2 separate regions of the Homo sapiens genome follow, and region 2 is linked to region 1. Evidence: promoter capture Hi-C in human tissues and cell types (Jung and others, 2019). All regions are on one chromosome and are shown on one strand. The core of a region is centred on a gene start or on the middle of the fragment in contact, and the rest is flanking DNA. Distances in the headings are between cores, read along the strand shown.

Region 1 (5,394 bases), core at 1,710-4,209:
CTTGTAACAAGAATACCCAAGAAGCACATAAAAATGTGTAGAAAGATATTCAGAGAAGTATTATTCATATTAGCCAAAAACATCAAACAAAGCTATGCTCAAAGCTCAATTAACAGAAAACGAAACATAACTTTTAATGTGAAGATGCAATTTGGAATTAAGTTAGCAACTTAAAAAACATTCATGCATCAAAAATATGCATAACATTTACAAGAGCATCAATTTTTAAATGCTCTTTAAAACATTTTATAAATTGCCATTGTAAAACCTAATGCCTAAAATTGACAGGCTAATCCTAAAATTCATCTGGAAATGCAAGGAACCCAGGGCAGTCAAAATAATCCTGAAAAAGAAGGAAAAAGCTAGAGGACTCATACTTCCTGATTCCAAATTTGCTATACAAAACAAATTTGTAATCCAAACAACAGCAATCCAAACTGTGTGTTACTGGCTGTCGTAAGGGAAGACAATGGAATAGAATTGAAAATACAGAAATGAATCCATACATTTCTGGTCGATTGATATTTGACAATGGTACCACAATTCAACGGGGAAAGATGAACCTTTTCAACAAATGGTACTGGGACAACTGGATACACAATTGCAAAAGAATGAAGTTATACCTTTCCCTTGCACCATACACAAAAATTAACTTCAAATGGATCATAGAACTAAACAGAAGAAGTAAAACTATAAAACCCTTACAAGAAAACAAGAAAAAAGGCGTAATTTTTGGGTTAGGCAAATAATTTTTGGGTTAGATGCAATAAAAGCACAAGTAATAGAAAAAAATAGATAAGATGGACTTCACCAAGACTTCACGAGAAATAAAAACTTATGAGTTACTTCAAAGAGCAGCATCAAGAAAATGAAAAGGCAGGCCACAGAATGGGAGAAAATGTTTGCACATTATGTATCAGATAAGGTGTGTATCCAGAATATTAAAAAAAAAAAAACTCTTACAACTCAATTATAAAAAAAGACAACCCAATTTTTAAATGGGCAATTAATCTAAATAGACATTTCTCCAAAGAAAATATAAAAATAGGCAATAAGCACATTAACTGTGATGTTAAGCATCAAAGAAACGCAAATCGAACCACAATAAAATATTAATACTACTTCACGTTCACTCACTATATTATAATAAAAAGGACAAATAAGTGTTCGTGAGCATGTGGAGAGGAACCCTCAGATATTGCTGGTGGGATTGTAAAATGCTACAACCACTTCAGAATAGTATGGCAGTTCCTCAAAATGTTAAACATAGAGCTACGATTTGACCCAGGAATCCCATTCCCAAAAGAAATGAAAACATATGTTCACACAAAAACTTGTACAAAAATGTTCATGCAGCATTATTCATAACCCAAAAGTGGGAACAACCAGATGTCCATCACTGATTGGATAAATATTAATAAAATGTGGAATGGAATATTATTTGACCATAAAAAGGAATTAGTAGTGATACATGCTACATCATGGATAAACTTTGAGAACATTATGCTAAGTGAAAGAAACTGGTCACCATGGCCCCATTTATAGGATATGTCCAGACTAGACAAATGCAGAGAGGCAGAAAATACATTAGTTGCCTAGGCCTGGGGCAGGGGGAAAATGGGGAGTGACTGCTAATGGGTCTAGGGATTCTTTCTGGGATAACGAAATTGTTGTAAAACTGATATGGTGATGTTTACACAACTCTATGAACATATGAAAAAACCTCTGAATTGTACTACACTTTAAATGAGTGTATTGGTACGGAAATGTGAACTCAATAAAGCTGTTTAAAAAACAAAACACCTAAGGTCTAGTATATACGTTCTTTGTGGAAAACAAGGTACATTCAAGACAAATAAATAACTATGAACTGATCTGATTACTAACCAAGACCATGCTTGAGGCACTTAGAATTAAGAATTTAACATACATTCCTTACTAGCTAAAAGATTACCCCTTTAAATATGTCTAAATCTCAACGAAAATGGACCTGCAGTACTTGCAACTGTCAGGGCATAAAATGGGATTCACGAAAGATACCTGAGTAAACACGTTCCTTTCCTGTACATGGCTGAACTGTACTTCCCATTACAAAAAAAAAAACAATAACTGCAGAAAAATACTCCACCGGGAGCCGGAGAAATTCTCAAAGAAGAATCTAATACTGAGCTAAGACAAGGGGTGGAAAGAATGAGGAAGGGGAAGGAGCACAGAGTAGGGGGAGGTCTCCATGCATTTAAGCCCAAGGAGTCCAGTTACATTAAATCCAACTTTTAAACGCTTTGTGAACAGGCCCAGAGGCAAAGTCCTGGGCGCAAACCCACGAGCCGAGCTGCGAGGCTGAGAGGAAGTGCTAGTCCAGCCCAACCCCGCACTGGATTTGGTGTGGAAACCGTCAGAGGTAAAAGGGATCGCTCAGATGGGGGGCCCGCGGTGAGGGCAGGAGGCAAAACCCCACCGCCCGGCGCTCCCAGCCAGCGCGCAGCGGGAGGCGGCTGTGCCGCGGGCCCGTCCTTCGCGTCCGAGCTGCCGCGCACGCCCCGCGCGGAGCGCGGCACCGGGAGCCTCCGGTGGGGCTGGGTCCCGTCTCCCGCCCCATCCGGCGCTTTGTCCCAGCCCCGGTGGCCGGCGGCCCCGCTGCGGGCCCCCGGGCCGCGGTGACAGCCCCCGTCCCCATAGGGCTGCGAGCCCGGGAGTCCCTATAGGCTGGCGACCGGTCGCCCGCCGGACCTCACCCAGGCGGGACGCGGCAGGAGGACGCTCGCCCTGCCGGAGGGGCCGCCGCCGCCGCCCGAAGCGCACGCAGGCCAAGCTCAGGCGCCAAAAGCCTTGGACTTCGAAACACACGACTTCCAACATCCTAAGCTTACCCAAAAATTCTCGACGAAATACGCCATGACCATCGTGCCGCCGCCGCGCCGGGTTCCGCGTCCGCGCCCGCCCGCCGCTGTGTAAACACGGCCCGGCCCCCACAGCACCCCCGCCTTTCGCCGCCGCCGCCTTCTTCCCAGAGACCGGCCCGCACCTTCCAGGGCGCATGCGCCACCTAGCGGCTGCCGCAGCTGGGCGAGCACTTAGACGCCACGGCCACGGTGTGCGCATGCGCCCTGTCCCCATTCTCGGGTGTTGGTAGATCTCTCTGCATCCCGGGCGCGGCTGGGTTGAGTGTTCTCTTAGGAATGGTGGAGAACTGGGTCCTTGAGGAGTCACCGGGGAGACTGCTCGCACTGTTTGTGGTGCGACGGGCACTGGCCCAGGGACAGAGGGAAGAGAAGGGCCAGCCAGCGGCAGTGGAGTCGGCAGGCTGGCTGCCCACTCGCTTTCTCTCCTCACAAGACTCGCTTCCCCGGCCTTCGAGGATCTCGAACGGACTATAGTCTGGACTCGCTGGGCTGGAGGAAACTTGGCCGCTGGCCACCCGGAGGAGACTGAGAAGCCTTTGGTCAACAGGGCGCCTTTCCTTGAACCAAAACAAAACTTTCCGAAGCCGGAAAGGAAACGCCCAGTGTCGCCTGAGAGCCCTGGAGCTGCGCGAGACCCAGGCACTGAGTGCGGCCTCGGCCTCTGACCTCTAACACGCCGGGAACAAACCAGCTGGGGCGGCCCGCAGGCCTGCGGGAGCGGAATGTGACCCGAAACCGACGGACTTCCTGACCCATAGTCCATAGTTCTCTTCAGCAACTTGAACATTTTGGAAAAAGAAACAAGTCTTAACATGCCACGACCTAATGGAAAAACTAAATCCCCTTCCTACACCTTGCTTTCCAAAAGTTAAAAAAAAATAGTTAAACGCTATTAGAGGTCTCAAGTTCACTGTCACCAGATCAGCTAGGTCCAGAATCTTCAGTTCTTGAAGCCAAGCCCTACAAATAGATTTATTGTAGCATATCACACCTCTTCAGGTGACTTAAAACAATGAGAATTCATGAGAAATTATCTTCATCCTCAAGTAAAAATCATGAGGTGCCTTTCACATGGATGAAATTGTAAGTGCTTGTTGAACAAGGAATAATTGGATAATGGTATTGTGGTCATACTTTTTAAGAATATCTGTTAGAAAGATATAGGATGCAGAACATCTAGGATTTGCTGAAAGTCATTTATTATGGATAGGGGTATGAGTAAGGTCATAGATGAAAAGGGATGAAACAAGATTGGCCATAGTTGCTCTATTTTTGTGTATCTTGTTTCTTTATTTTGTTTCTTTAAAAAGTCCTCATATCACTGACATTTACACTTAGTTTTAGGGAAAGTCAAATTTAGAAATAAGCTACAGCTCTCTAAGCTATCGGTCTAACTGGATTTTTCTCGATGCTGAAGAACTTTTTAAAAAATTCAGCCATCTAGGTCACACAGCAAATACATTTGGCATTAAATTCCTAGTATCACTAAAGTACTCCCTCCCACCGCCGCGCCCCCCCCCTTCCCCCCGCACCCTTAGACCTGGGCAAGAGAGACTTCTATCCTGGACTCCATGCTTTAAAGGAACTTACATATCACACACACACATTAATTTAAAAAAAAATAGGTGCCCCTGCCGCTTGTGATCTGATACTGAACACTGGCTCATAACCATAAATTCCCTCTCCCAGTGAAGAACACTATTCAGGCCCCAGGAAAACTCTTCTTCCTATCTTTTGTCTTCTGTCCTCAAAACAAACGGTGAACTCCAAAAGCAGTGAAAATTTGTACATAGCATGGCTGCCCATTTCAGAGACTGCTTTGGAGTCAGAATTTGAGCAGCAGAAATGCTTAGGTAAGAGAGAAGACAAATTAACTTGTCAAATCCTTCATCTCAGCTTGAATGCTATAGATTCCTGCATGACAAAGTATTGTTTCTCAGTAGTATCAAGCATACATTTTCCTTTTGTTAGTGTTCCAATGTGTGGCTATTACCTACAGACAATTTAGTATAGTATTCACAATAGTTACTGGCCTTCATTCGCATTCTTCTGCTCCCCTTAAATTTAGGAGTAGATCTGGAATGAAAATAAGTATTCTGAGTATTTCAGGTATTTGCAAGGTTCATTAGGGCCGAAACACCATATCCTGTAATTGCCTGATGTTTAAGTTGTGGAACTTTATAGTAAACAGTGATTAAGGTGACTAAATTTCAGACAAGACTGTGTAGTATAGGAAGAGCGTGGATGGTATCAGCCTCCTTCTGCACTCTCAAGTGAGGTTTCCAGGGATGAACATACATTCTGGCAGAGCATAGATAAGCTCCTGAGTGGGTAGTGCTGGGTGGGGTTACAGGCATGAGCCACCGAGCTTATATGCGTTAAAGTGTTTGTGCCACACTCTCTTAGACTTTGCTTATCAAAATGTATTTCATTTTGAAATTATTAAAAACCAACATAGATAACAACAGTGTACAAGTCACTGCCTATAATA
Region 2 (5,394 bases), core at 957-3,456, 600 kb after region 1:
CAAGTGAGGTGGGGTCACTGTGTATCTTCTGCTCACTGGTGACCAGACACGGTAAAATTCAACACATACTATATTTGAGACCATAAGTATGAAGCAGCTTTGAACTGCTCTCATGGCACATTTTTTTTTAATATGAGGCATTCAAGAGAGAAAAATCATTAACAAATAAGATAAACTATAGGACTAAATATTTATTATCCACATAGAAACCAAAGCATTATGTGGTTTTTAGTGGCACTTATTTTGAAAAGCACATGGCTTACCCATGAACAAAGCAGTAGTCATTTAAATTTGGCTTACTCAGCAGTCCTAAAGGCTAAATTCTGGTTTTGTTTGTGCTGCTGAGAAAACAAAACAACCACAATCCCAGCAAGTTTCCTTATGAACCTTATTTCTCTTATTTTTGAGAAAATATGATCCTACTAAACCTTGAATGAAGATTTCAAATCTATATGCAAAGACACATAGGCATTATTGTTTTGCAGATGGAAAAATAAGGGCTCAAGTCATAGACATATATGATGGCAGAGCAATGAGAAAATCCTGGGCTGTTTTCTAACATGGTAAAATAGGGTTTCATACCTCCTGAATTCAGCAAGGATGTAATTTGCAAGTAACTACTCCTTTGAAAATCAGAGTTATCCACACTTGTAGTGAAATTCATTCCTGATGGTGCTTACTGGGTTCCACTCTGGTGTCGGAAGCTGAACCGGAGACTGACCAGGTTCCTTCAAGGATCCTCAGCCATGCAAAAGGGAAGCGCCTTTCTGAGGGAGCCAAGCTTGCATCTAGACCTTCACAGTGGTGCAACATAACTTCTCAGAGATCGGCATGGTACCATTCAGTGAATTTGGGAATTTCAGGAGAAGACCAAGTGTCAGCACACTGTCTGCTGAAGTGCGATACCTGGCTTCTTAGGAAAGGTAATAACTCACTAGAAGCAGGCCCCTCAGATCCATAGGTGGACTGAAACCAGGGTTACTCAGCCAACAGGGACTGGCTGAGTGGCTGGAAGGTGCGACGGCTGACCATCCTCTTGTTTAATAGCAACGTGTGAGATTTCCTGTCCCTGGGGGTGTGGCAGAGCACAGCATCCAAAGAATCAGTGGTGACCTGGCCAGTGATGTGCAGTGTCCCATAGATCTCATCAAATTTGGCCACAAGGGCAGGCACATCCTTCACTTTTTCCCTCACTTTGGCCAGCTGGAAAAAAGCAAGAACACATCATTACATCTCTGCAAGATTTCTTCCTTATTCTTACTATAACCCTAAGAAAAAGAAATGGACATGAACAAAAATGTATGGTAGGCCAGGCGAGGTGGCCCATGCTTTAATCTAAGCAATTTTGGACGCTGAGACAGGAGGACTGCTTGAGCACAGGATTTCTAGGCCAGCCTAGGCAACACAGTGAGACTTTGTCTGTAAAAAAATTTTTTTAAAAATTAGTTGGTGTAGTGGGAGGATCACTTAAGCCCAGGAGACAGAGGCTGCAGTGAGCTGTGATCGTGCCACTGTACTCCAGCCTTGGCGACAGAGTGAGTCTTAAAAAAAAAAAAAAGTATGGTATACACCTAAAATCGTGAAAACCAGGGTACTGGGGCACACAGACAGCAGTATTACTATGAGGGATTCCAAAAGCTACACACAAAATTCAAAATTAGTACTTGAAAATCATACCTAATATAAAAAAAGGGGGGTTCAAATAACACATCATATATAATGAAACACACCAAGTAAAGGAGGTCATATACCAGTGGAATCAACTTTGTTCAATGTAATGATTAGAGCAGGAGGAGGCAGGGCCAAATTACATAGGCTTTATATATATTCCACAATAAGTTTTTTGAAATTTATTCTAAAAAAGCCATCAGAGCATCTAAAGTGGGAAATGATCTCATTTCTGTTCAAAAAGTTGCAGAGAATGAACTGGAGTGTACAGAAATGTGGAGACTATTCTGGAGGCCCACACCATAGCCCAGATAAGAAACAATGGTAGTTGAGATTGGGAAAGGTACAGAAAAGAAGGAGAAGTACACTTATGTGAGGTATATTTTGGAGTTTACACTGAAAGGACTTATTTTTGAATGGGTGAAGGAAAGGGAGGTGTCAAAGCTATCTTCTCAATTGGGGCTTTAATAGCTTGATGATGGGTGCTATCATTTCCTGATAGAGAAGACAGGGAGGCGAGATTTGGAAGGGAAAATCAAGAGCTCTGTTTGGACCTGATTGAGACGGCTGTGAACCATCTAAATGGGTATGTCTAGAACGTTGTTGGATATACAAGTCTGGGGCATGAAGGAGAGGTCTGGGCTAGAGGCATACGTAGTAGAGTCACAAGTATATGATGGTATTTAACCCCCAAAATGGGTGAACTAGAATGGAGAATGTGAAGCTGCTTTCTGAATAAAATCAGCATTTTACTTAGTTCAATCCTTATCAAGGGTACAATCTCAACACATTTCTTGATGGAATTTAATTGGGATCAAGCTTCCTAATAAATCCTTTGCCCCTCTTCCACCTCTTCCAAATATATAACACTGTTTGCACCTGCACATCTTCCTTTGAGACAATGGCTCCCAACCATGCCTGCAGACAAGCAGCTTAAGCACTTCTTAATGTTCTTAAAAAAGAATAGCTTGTTTAGTCCTCATGTTCAAGGTGAAAATGACTTAATGTGCAGCATATGGCTTCTAAAAGCAGCAGAGCAAACATGCCAAGCTGGAGGTAATTTTGATCTAAAAACTGTAACAGTTCTGTTACATAACTACAGAAATAAATCAGCAATTATTTTCAATAGTCCTGTGGTGGTATAATAGCACCTATGATAGTTTATAGTCTTATCTCCCTACATAACACTTTTTAAATAACTGCTGGCATAAGCATTAAATGCACTTTGTAAAATGCAGACGTTTACAATATAGGACTCCACTTGCAATCTCACACATATATATTTAGAACTAGCTCAAAAGCTACTGGAGTTATATGAATCAATCCATTTCTCATCAAGCTGTTCCTTGAGTGGTCCCACAGTAACCAGAGGGAAGACACTGAACTAGAGGGTTCATTTTCTAAGTACAAGAGTCTTATATGAGTATTTTTCAATATAAAGTTTGTTCGGGTGCTTTAGCCATATAAATGGGTGACAATGTATTGATGGTTCAGGTCTAAGGAATGGTTGTTAACAACAATGCTGCTGAGAAAATGGAAGTTGGATTTCACATGTACACATACACACGTGACTATGCACTTTAAAATCTGTTCATGCTTCTACTTTCCCTACTTTTCTAAACTTACTCCAAAAGGGTTGGGTGGATCACAGCCTACACAGAGCTAAAACTGCAAATAGAAAGAAGCGTTAAATCAACCATATCCAGTTAGTCATTTTCCTGACAAGCTCCCTTTTATCAGAAGGAAGAAGCCTTTGGGTGGAAGTGAGGAAATGGAACAGGGCTGGGAAGGCGACAGTGTGGCAGGAGGAGGAAGCAGCCACTGCCCTCTAGTGCCAATCCTGCTGTCTCAGCCTTCAGCCTGGACCAAACTATAAAAGAGAGGCAGGAGAAATGAGGGAGGAAGAGAGGACCAACCAACAGGCCACTTGGTTGGTCAAAATGACAATATCAGTATTATTACTAACAATATGATCACTGTCAATAACGTACAATTTCTTTACACTTCTGTTTTTCACCTTAAGTTACATGCTATGAGAGATACACAAATTACTACATCTCAAATGACCTACAAGAATTCCAATTTGTGTACTTAAGCCATCAATGTGACACATGGGTTCATTTGTTTCATTTCACTTTCAATTTTTAGGAACTGTTTTTTCTCTTCATTTTTATTTAACTCTGCTTTACAGTTCTGCAAAGCATTTACATGGTTCCTAAATGAAATACATAAACAAGGTACATTCGGAGAACTCATGTTTCCGTCCCTCACTTTCACTTTCAAAACTTTTATTTCTTAATTTTTTAAAATTAAATTTAAAAAATAATTTGTCAATTACTTTAATTGTCAAATAATAATTGTGTATATTTATAAAGTTCAATGTGATGTTTCAATCTATGTGTATACTGTAGAAAGATTCAGTCAAGCTAACAAAACTATCCATCATCTACCAATGTGTCTTTTTCTGCGGTGAAACATTAAAATATACTTCTTTGGCATTTTTGAAATATGCATAATAATTAACTGTGGTTCCTAAAGACTCAATCAAAAAAACCTTTAGGACTGATAAAGTCAGTAAAGCTGCAGGTTACAAAATTTACATACAAAAACAGCAGTATTTCTATAAAAAAAGATCTGAAAAAGAAATCAACATAACCACTTAAGTTTTGTTTTTTTTATCGTAGTGTTTTTCAAAAACATAAATATATAAAAATAACTATATGGTCCCGCCTTCTTAAGGCATACTACACATACCCATTTGCATCTTACTTTTGTCACTTAAAAACATATTTAAGTGATCCATATAAATGGTAATCCATAGCAGTATATGATGTAGCTGTTCCTCATTTCCTGTCCTTTGTACGAACAGACCCTAATTTGTACAACTAGTTGTCTAGTGATGGAAATTTGGGCTTTTTTCCAGTCTGCTGTTATTAGAAATTGGATTGCAACAAATAGCCTTGTACATACAACTTCTTTATATTTGCCAGTATATTTTTAGAATATACTCCAAGAAGTGGGAGGATTGAGTCAAAGGGTGAAAGTATTTGTAGTGTACCAATCTGTATTCGCTGTAGCAGCATTTCCTCAGATGATAGCGCCCATTTCCTCAGAGCCTCACCAACCAAGTTGGCTGGCAAACTTGCAGATTTCTATTCAAGAGAAATATCATAGGGTAGTTTTATTTAGCATTTTCTTGATATGGGCAAGAGAATCTTTTCGAAAGTTTAAAGGCCATTCACAATTCATTTTTAGTAAATTCTGTCCACATCTCTTACCCATTTTTCTTCAGGGTTGTTGGTTCTTTTCTCAGAATTTTCAAAAAGAGCTTTTTTTTTTTTTTTTTTTTTTTTTTCAGATGGAGTCTCATTCTGTCGCCAGGCTGGAGCGCAGTGGCGCAATCTCGACTCCCTAGTTCAAACGATTCTCGTGCCTCGGCCTCCTGAGTACCTGGGACTACAGGCATGCACCACCACGCCCAGCTAATTTTTATATTTTTAGTAGATACGGGGTTACATTTTGGCCAGGATGGTCTCGATCTCCTGACCTCATGATCCGCCTGCCTCAGCCTCCCAAAGTGCTGGGATTATAGGCATGAGCCACCGCACCTGGCCTCAAAAAGAGCTCTTGAAATATTAGGGCTAGTTAGCCTTTTGTCAGTATGATTAAAAATTGATTACTTACCTCTTGACTTTGCTTGTAGACTTTTTGCCACATGAAAAAACA

The links. Contacts are between HindIII fragments. The study calls those that stand out against the background at their distance.
Region 2: a contact is called between a fragment that was not itself captured here and the fragment with the promoter of FCHO2 in region 1, in 1 of the 25 tissues and cell types used here (dorsolateral prefrontal cortex).

What each region holds. Positions count from the first base shown.
Region 1 is chr5:72,953,606-72,958,999 of GRCh38, reverse strand. It overlaps FCHO2 (FCH and mu domain containing endocytic adaptor 2), which reads right to left and starts at 2,959. Exons shown (of 26, transcript NM_138782.3): 1 at 2,871-2,959. The coding sequence starts at 2,903. It overlaps FCHO2-DT (FCHO2 divergent transcript), which reads left to right and starts at 3,116. Exons shown (of 2, transcript NR_186392.1): 1 at 3,116-3,986. RefSeq lists a silencer at 2,367-3,066. The HindIII fragment of the contact is 22,512 bases long and covers 1-5,394 here.
Region 2 is chr5:72,354,012-72,359,405 of GRCh38, reverse strand. It overlaps PTCD2 (pentatricopeptide repeat domain 2), which reads right to left. Exons shown (of 10, transcript NM_024754.5): 10 at 1-1,203. The coding sequence ends at 979. Among named protein-coding and RNA genes, the nearest start is that of PTCD2, 36 kb to the right of the region's middle. The HindIII fragment of the contact is 4,646 bases long and covers 1-4,529 here.